2 separate regions of the Homo sapiens genome follow, and region 2 is linked to region 1. Evidence: promoter capture Hi-C in 16 types of primary human blood cells and fetal thymus (Javierre and others, 2016). All regions are on one chromosome and are shown on one strand. The core of a region is centred on a gene start or on the middle of the fragment in contact, and the rest is flanking DNA. Distances in the headings are between cores, read along the strand shown.

Region 1 (4,385 bases), core at 1-2,500:
TGTCTCTCTGTCATGCAGAGGAGCTGTAGTTCAGTTTTTGTTTTTTGTTTATTTTACGGAGCACATTTAAAGTATAGTCTTCCTTGTCAGGAGATTCCTGGCACTAAAGAGATGGACGGGAAACTTAACCGCCTCCTCCAGATCGTCCACTATTGCATCATTTGAAACCAAAGCCTTCTAAAGGCAGCGACTCGCACAATTCAAGTCAGGTAAGATGGCAGGAACAGCAGCTGTGGGTGCTGGCTGCTGCTGGAGCCTCGGTCTCAACTTCAAGAGCAGGGAGAGCGCTGTCTCTGGAGTTGCCAGGTGCTGAAATGAATAGTCAATAAATCAACAGGTCCGGCGCGCTAGCCCCTGGGTGCTCAGGCCCGGGCGCGCCACGACTGAAGGAGTGGCTAATTACTCAAACACAGTTGAAACCAAAGGAGGCCGGAGTCGGTTCTCAAAGTGGTTTCCCTCCGGCCACCACCGACTCTGAGGACCTGCTAGGGGAAGTGTCCCGGCCCCGTGGAGGGAGAGGGAAGCACCACAGCCTGGGCTGCGGCTCTAGCCCTCCAGCCCCAGCCCCTGGCAGCCCTGCCCTGCTGTCGCGGCAGGTACCCCTCTACTCATTGTTCCTCAGGCTGCCCCCTCTTTTCATCAATCGTAAGCCTTTCGGTTCTGCCACCAGGAAACTTCCATAGAAGGTGAGATTCCCAGGTCGAGGGATGATTCCACGAACACCCAGAGAGCCAGTGCCAGGACTTCAGGGTCAGACTTCGTAAAGCCCAGGCGTCGCTGGGCCGGCCCGGAACAGCTCAGAGCTGCGGGTCCTATGGTCCCGCGCCCTCACGCCCATCCAAGTGCTGGCAGGACGTGGGTCCTCCATCCCCACGACTCGCGGGGCCGGCGCTCCGAACCTCGGCACTGCGTCCGCTCCGCGCGCCGCAGGGACCCTCCTAGCTCCAGCGGGGACAGACCTACCAAGGCCGGGCGCCCCCACCCGGCGCCCGCCAGCCCACCCCAGAGAGGGGACCAAGGGGGCGGGGCCTCGGCCGTCCTAGCCGGGCTCACTCTTCTCTCCCGGACTCCTGTCCAGGGCTTCAGGGGCCGGGCCCGCAATCCCCATCGGATCGTACCTCGTCCGCTTCCAGCTCCGCTCGGCTGCCTAAGAGCGCCATATTCCTCCTCTGGCTGCTGCCACCCAAAAACCAAGCAGGGAACTCAGAGCCGACTCCTGCTCTCGGCTCTGGGCTCAGCCCAGCGCAAAGGAGGGCAAAAGGGGACGGCCCGGCGCTCCCTCCGGGTCTCGGGCGGGGCCTGAGTGCAGCTACTCGATTTCCCCGCCCCCGGAGCCGGCAGGCCAGCACAGCATCCATTTCCTCCCCGGACGCCGCGCCGCTGGCCGGGCCACTTGCCCGGCCCCCAGCGGGCGGCAGCCCCGCCCAAGTGGGTGGAGTCACCTCCCAGATAAAGTTTCCCGGTCTGGCACGCCCTCTGGGAGGGTTTCCTAAGCTTTCCTGCCGCCTGTTCTCTGCGGTGGCTGGGCACACCTGGAAAGAAGCTAGAGAGCGCGGGCATGACGAAGCCAAGGTCAAAGCAGCGCCCCACCTGGGGTCCGTGGAAGCATCCACCTGGTCTTTGGTCCGGTGCCAGTCCTTTTCCCTCGCCAGGTGGCCACCGCATCTCGCAGATGGTGTGGCCTGAGGGCAGCCTTGGGTCACGGTCACTGGTCCCCGAGAGGCCTCTGACACACCACCCACCTGGACTGTAGGTGGAAGGACTCTGCTTGCTTCTGTGTTCAAAAAATAGAAAAAAACGCGGGACAGAGATTTATACATATTGGAACTCCTCTACTTCCCCCTACCCGGACAGTGTATTCTCCCCATAGCATCCTGTATTTTGTAACTCCAAACATAGGTGTATAATTCGTGCTTGAACTATAAACTCCATGGGGGTAGGATGCTATCTGTCCTCTTCAAGACTGTATCCCCAACACCCAGAACAGTGTCTTGCACATCGTAGGTGCTCAACAGATATTTGTTGGCTGAGTTTAGAAACTGAACCTTGCTTCTGACATGTAAAATAACTGGAAAATTAAAAGCTAGATCTTTAAGAGTTTGGGGGAGAGAGGTCAGATTTACTTTACATACAGAAAAATGCACCAAGTTAAATGTGTGATTCAGTGACAAGTGTTTACAAAGCATCCCAGTCATAATATAGAACATCCTGAAAAGTTTTCTGTGACCCTTTGCTGTCAATTTCCTACCTCCGCTCCCTAGCCTCTGTCAATCACTGATCTGCTATCAACATCGATTTGCCTTCTCTAGAATTTCATATAAATTTAATTAGAGCATGTGGTCTTCCATGTCTGGCTCATGAAAGGCTATTTAATAGTCATCCAGTGATAACTGTAAAAACAGCTAATAGTTCTTGAGTCCTTACTATGTGCCAGGACTCTACTGAACCTCTTGCATATAGTATTTCATTTATTCTTCATAACCCCATAAAGTAGGGTGCTGTTCTCTTTCAGATGAGTAAACTGAGGCTCAGAGAGTTCAAGTAATATGCCTGAGGCCAGACAGCAGTTAAGTAAGTAGGGATGCCAGCATCTGAACCCCAGCAGTCTAACTCTAGGGCCTAGCTGATAACCATTGCTTTGTACTGTACTGGCTCTAGCCACCCTCCCTCTCTTTCTTTCTGTGTCAGTAGAGCAGTTGTCTGTGCAAGTCCATTACATACATTTTCAGTGAGTCACTTTGCATCCTTAATACTTGCTGTACAATTTTAATGGCTTGGCATGTACTTTTGTACTAGAATAATAAAATGGTTTCTACAGCAGAAACATTGAAAAAATGGGTTAGATCGTGTGATGGTTGCTCAACTCTCTGAATTGTCTAAAAATCCTTGAATTGTGTACTTACAATAGGTGGAACTTATGATTATGTAAATTATATCTTAGTAAAGCTGTTTTAAAAAAACTAGCTGACACAGGCTAGGTGTGGTGGCTCACGCCTGTATGGGATTACAGCACTGGGAGACTGAGGAAGGAGGCTAACTTGAGTTTAGGAGTTCGAGACTAGCCTGAGCAACATAGCAAGACCCAATTTCTAAATAATAATACTTTTTTTTTTTGAGAGACAGTTTCACTCTCATCTCCCAGGCTGGAGTGCAATGGCTCGATCTTGGCTCACTGCAACCTCCGCCTCCTGGGTTCCCACTAATCTGTAAATTGCTTAGAAGGAGGCACTATCTTATTCATCAGTGCAGGTACTCAATAAAAAAGCTCCAGGTGCAGTGGCTCATGCCTGTAATCCCAACACTTTGGGAGACCGAGGCGAGCGGATCACGAGGTCAGAAGTTCGAGACCAGCCTTACCAACATGGTGAAACCCAGTCTCTACTAAAAATACAAAAAGCAGCTGGGCATGGTGGTATGCGCCTGTAATCCCAGCTACTGAGGAGACTGAAGCAGGAGAATTGCTTGAACCCTGAAGGCGGAGGTTGCCGTGAGCCGAGATCGTGCCATTGCACTCCAGCCTGGTGAAAAGAGTGAAACTCCGTCTCAAAAATAATAATAATAATAATACTTTTATTATTTAGAACACATGCTCTGAACACTTAGAATCAGATGGACCAGAAGAGACATAGAGTTTGTTTAATTCCAATACCCTTGAAAGTTTCCATTCCTTCCCAGACCCCCAACCCACTCCTACCTCCTCCTATGTTTCACTTTCTGAGGCTAGAATTCCTATCCAGGTCCAGATTCTACTCTGTATTACTCATGCATGGTTCTGTTTTTCAAAGTTCATTGGTTCCTGAATTGATAGCACATCCTTTTGACATGAAGCCATCTCACTGGTAGCTTCTTCTCCCATATGCTGTTATTCTGCCTTTGGAATTTCAACTCTTCAAATTTTGAAGAGATCCAAACAAACTTCGCTCTAATTAGTGACAGAATTATGTTATAATGAAAATCGAGTACAATTTTTCAAAAATCTATACTTATAATTGAAGCTTGATTGGTGTTTTTGTTGTTGAATTTTTTACATATCAGGGATCAAACCTGAAGTCTCGTATGTTTTAAATTCACGGCAGGAGATAAGCAACATTCATGTTTCAATTATAAACACTGAATGAATAAATGTATTCTAGCCACTGGAACGTCTAATCAAATTTGCTTTGCTCAGGGCAGCTGTCAGCTTTGCCTATACAAGAGTGATTTTATCGTGAATCACAAATATAAAAGTTTTTCTTCAAAGAACAATTAGAATGGATTTGTTTTTACACAGAATTCCCCTTGCAAGTTTGCTGATAATGTTATACTCTAGCAGTCAAGTGAGATTACTCAGATATTCCATATCCCAGAAGTAATTAGCATAGAGATCAAGCAAGAGGGTATCTGAA
Region 2 (4,385 bases), core at 1,286-3,785, 620 kb before region 1:
AGTTCAAGACGAGCCTGGCAAACATGGGAAAACCCTGTCTCCACTAAAAATACAAAAATAAGCTGGGCGTGGTGGTGTGTGCCTGTAATCACAACTACTTAGGAGGTTAAGGCACGAGAATCGTTTCAACCCAAGAGGCAGAGGTTGCAGTGAGCAGAGACTGTACTACAGCACTCCAGCCTGGGCGACAGGGCGAGACTTCATCTCAAAAAAACAAAAAAAAAAACAATGTTAAAGAGCTGCTACCCCAATGGCAAATAAATGAATTATTTCAGAAAAAAATTCAAACAGAATTAAATGTGGTACAACCAAACATTTTTGAAAGATGGCCAAAAACAATAATGCTACTAAGTCTATGACTTGAGAGTGGCTTCCTAATGTTTCAGCAAAATAGTAGTTTCTGTCAGTAACGTTAGTAGGTTATAGCACAGGCCAATCACCCATGAGTCAAATCCCAGTCACTTGCTGGCTTAAAATCAAGAAAAATCCTACTTTACATTTATAGTTATCAGAGCTACACTGCAGACACAGCCTCTGAAATGAGATTCGTATTTCAGTACTAGATAAACACCACTACCTCTGAGAAATGAAATCTCATCTATGTGGTAATAAAAGTAATGCTGGGCCGGGCATGGTGGCTCATGCCTGTAATCCCAGCACTTTAGGAGGCCAAGGTGGGCAGATCATCTGAGGTCAGGAGTTTGAGGCTGGCCTGGCCAACATGTTAAAACCCCGTCTCTACCAAAAATACAACAATTAGCCAGGCATAGTGGCGCCCGCCTGTAATCCCAGCTACTCGGGAGGCTGAGGCACGAGAATCGCTTGAAGCTTGAACCCAGGAGGCAGAAGCCGCAGTGAGCAGAAATCATCGTGCCACTGCATTCCAGTCTGGGTGCCAGAGTAAGGCCCTGTCTCAAAACAAAACAAAACAAAAGTAACGTTGGGCCTAAACATTCAAAAAATTGGAACAACAAAACAATTTCAAAGTTTCAAAACTATAAAATGTCATTAAATATTTTTAATATTGCTACGCCTGAAAGAATACAATCTAACAATTTACAAGCTAAGTTTTCAAACATACCAATTTTTTTTCCACAGTGCCAAGAGAAAATGCTTATTAGATGAATATATGAAATTTTAAACTTATTAATTACAGCCAAATGAATTTAGAAAGCAGAGTTACAGCTGTAAACGTATTTATAAAACTTTTTGACTTCTGATATCATTCTACTCTGAAAATTAGTCAAGTGTGGCAGTTAAATAATTCTCCATAAAAATCAAGCTCTCATTGCCAATTAGGAATTCAATTTTTTAAATATCACATAGATATTCAGTTGATTATCAACAGATTAAAAAATTAATCTTCTACAGATGTTAAAAGAGAAATTATGACATAGTCTCTTATTCACTTTCCAAGCTTTAGTTTCTTTTCAAGCTTCAGTTTGACCATCTGTAAAATGGAGATAAAAATGTCAACTTACACAGTTGCTGTCACGCTTAAATGAGAAATTGACTGGCAAAGCAGCGCCTCCAAAATGCTAACTTTACAGGGGAGCGAAGGAGAGAGCAGAGGAAGGGAAAGTGAAAGATAAGTTTTACTTCTAGTTTTACAAACTCCAGAATGAAACAACGTTTCTAGGTCCCCATCATTAAAAGTAATGAAACAGTTTAACAATACCCCAGGGCCTGCTCTTGCCTGTGATCATACCATGTTGGGAGGTGAGTAGGGGTAGGATTGCTTGAGCTAAGGAGATCCACAGCAGCCTGGGCAACACAGCCAGACCTAGCCACTAGTTAAAAAACAAACAAATGGGGGCCAGGCACAGTGGCTCATGCCTGTAATCCCAGCACTTTGGGAGGCAAAGGCGGGTGGATCACCTGAGGTCAGGAGTTCAAGACCAAACTGGCCAACGTCGTGAAACCCCATCTCTACTAAAAATACAAAAATTAGCCAGGCATGATGGTGGGCACCTGTAATCCAAGCTACTCGGGAGGCTGAGACAGGAGAATTGCTTGAACCCGGGAGGCGGAGGTTGCAGTGAGCCGAGATCACCCCACTGCACTCCAGCCTGGGTGACAGAGCGAGACTCTGTCTCAAAAACAACAACAAAAAACGAACAAACAGAAAACCAGCCGGGTGTGGTGGCACATGCCTGTAGTCCCAGCTTATTGGGAGGCTGAAGTGGGAGGATCGCTTAAGCCAGGGAGATGGAGACCAAGGCTGCAGTGAGCTGTGACTGCACTGCACTCCAGCCTGGTCAACAGAGTGAGATCCTGTCTCAAACAAAAAACAAAACAAACACAAGAACAACAAAAAATGCCCCGTTATCTACTTTTTTAAAGTCTGTGAACTAGTCAAAAAAACTTCAAATATTACAGCCCTTCGGCTAGTATCATACTAGCTGAAGTTGTATTTCTACACGTTGGTTAGGGGGATCTTTAAGAAGAAAACCGAAAATAGAGATTTGATCTAAAATAGAATGAATGAACTGAAGCCCCTAAACTAAATCACATTCAAGTAAAAGCAGGACTGGTGAGCAAAGGAATAAAGTGTGAAAGAAAATCAGTACTTGATCTCAGAAGCTAATAAAGAATGTATAATGCAAGCAGGGATTCTGAATCAATTGCTGAGTTTTCCAGGAAGACTTTGTAAAAACGTGGGTGGACAAAGTGTCAAAGCATAAAATACTTGCACTATCAATGGTTTCAAGAATCCACTCTGTAGACTAAGTCTTTAAATTACATTCTGGGCAAAATTGAGCATAAGCTGTTGCTCTTCTCATAAATTTGTTTTTGTGTGCACCAGTCTCATGAGTGAAAAATAAATGTACATGACTGTATTAGTAGTACTACACTGCAGTATTAATACTGCTAACACTATCCTAGTAGTATTACTACTAGTAGTATTAGTACTGCTAATACAGGCATTTACCTTTATTTTTCCCTGCTTGCATTAACTTGCTTTAACTTTAGAGAAAGTAGATAACTGGGCCACTGTTTTTTGGGTATGTTTGTCTGAGACAGGGTCTCACTATGTTGTCCAGGCTGGAGTGCTGCAATCACAGCCCACTGCAGCCTCAGTCTCCATTCTCCCTGGCTCAAGCTCACTTCATTAGAATCTTCTAACAAAAAGTAAAAATAGCTTGGGAGGTGTGGGGTGATACGAATTAAAGACCACCAAATATTGTTTCAGTCAGTACAAAAGGTCTCTGTGGGAATTTTCATTAGGGAGATAGGAGTGGGAAAAGGGACTGAAAAGGCAAGATTAAATGTAGGATAGGGACAGGGATTTAAAAAGGTAACTTTTGTTCCAAAATCAGCACAAGGAAAAAACCTTCAGATACAGTAAAAGCCAGAAATGAAGAGGCCCAGGCTTTTCCTGGGTATGAATCAAGTATGTTCTTCCAAGAAGGAAGGGAAGCCTGCTACTTACCTTCTAGTACCCACCACACCAAGAGAGATTGGTGGGGGGTTGGGGGTAGAAGACTAAATTAGATTTCCTTCACACCAGGCTTTACCAAAGCAGCCATGATTTAAGAACACTAACACCATAAGAAAAATCTCTCCTCACCTGCTTGCTGAAGCTGAAAATCCTGCAGTAAGTGAAAAAGTTCTTCATTCTGTAATTACAGATAAAAAGCTTAAAATCAGAAGCTTGGTTGACATCACACTTGAGCATTTTAGGTTAGATTTAAAATAAAATTCACCAGTGAATGGTAAAATATCAATTTTACCCAACCTGCCCTTTTGTAGAAGGGGCAACACATCGGTTAAGAGAGTCTCTGAAATGGGGAAGAAGGTTAATCTACCCTGAGAGAAATAGCACAGAGGAAAAAGCAGCTTGAAAGGCAGAAGGCAAACTTCAAAAATGTCACAATTTTGCCTAGGTTAGGTCTAAAGAGCAAAACAAACACATAAAGTACCATCATACTAAGGTATTTTTGTTCAGGGACCTATCAATGAGCACAGTGATGATTCACATGTCTATGAAAATGTGCTTTTTAAACTAGTCTGACTTGACTTATCAAGAATTCTTAACAAATCACTTTCAACAATAAAAACTGTTTTACAATTTCACCTGTATTTTTACCTTTAATAAGAGTTATTTAAGCACTGATTATTCTACTAGATGCTAAATTGCCTATTATATTTAATGCATGTGAAAAGTTGAATCTGAGCCCTAATGTTTTACTAAAACAACATAAAAGGTTACATTCCTTAATATAAAAGTAAAACTGAATTTAGGGAACAAACTCTTGGCAATAAAAACAGCCTTTCCTCTGCCTTCCCTCTTTTGCCTGGTAGTATTGATACTGCCACTGTGTCACCTCCTATGCTAAAAAAGTTTTCACTGAGTCACATTCAATTACAATTCCAGAAAAACA

What was found. The method cuts DNA at HindIII sites, captures the fragments that hold promoters and counts their contacts. A CHiCAGO score of 5 or more calls a contact.
Region 2: a contact is called between a fragment that was not itself captured here and the fragment with the promoter of TTC39B in region 1, in 1 of 17 cell types (total B cells). The highest score is 8.4, in total B cells.

What each region holds. Positions count from the first base shown.
Region 1 is chr9:15,305,966-15,310,350 of GRCh38, forward strand. It overlaps TTC39B (tetratricopeptide repeat domain 39B), which reads right to left and starts at 1,251. Exons shown (of 20, transcript NM_152574.3): 1 at 1,119-1,251. The coding sequence starts at 1,160. RefSeq lists enhancers at 1-452, 1,016-1,578 and silencers at 816-1,135, 1,166-1,505. The HindIII fragment of the contact is 2,405 bases long and covers 1-1,492 here.
Region 2 is chr9:14,686,766-14,691,150 of GRCh38, forward strand. It overlaps ZDHHC21 (zDHHC palmitoyltransferase 21), which reads right to left. Exons shown (of 10, transcript NM_178566.6): 2 at 3,572-3,620. Among named protein-coding and RNA genes, the nearest start is that of ZDHHC21, 4.5 kb to the right of the region's middle. The HindIII fragment of the contact is 2,205 bases long and covers 1,434-3,638 here.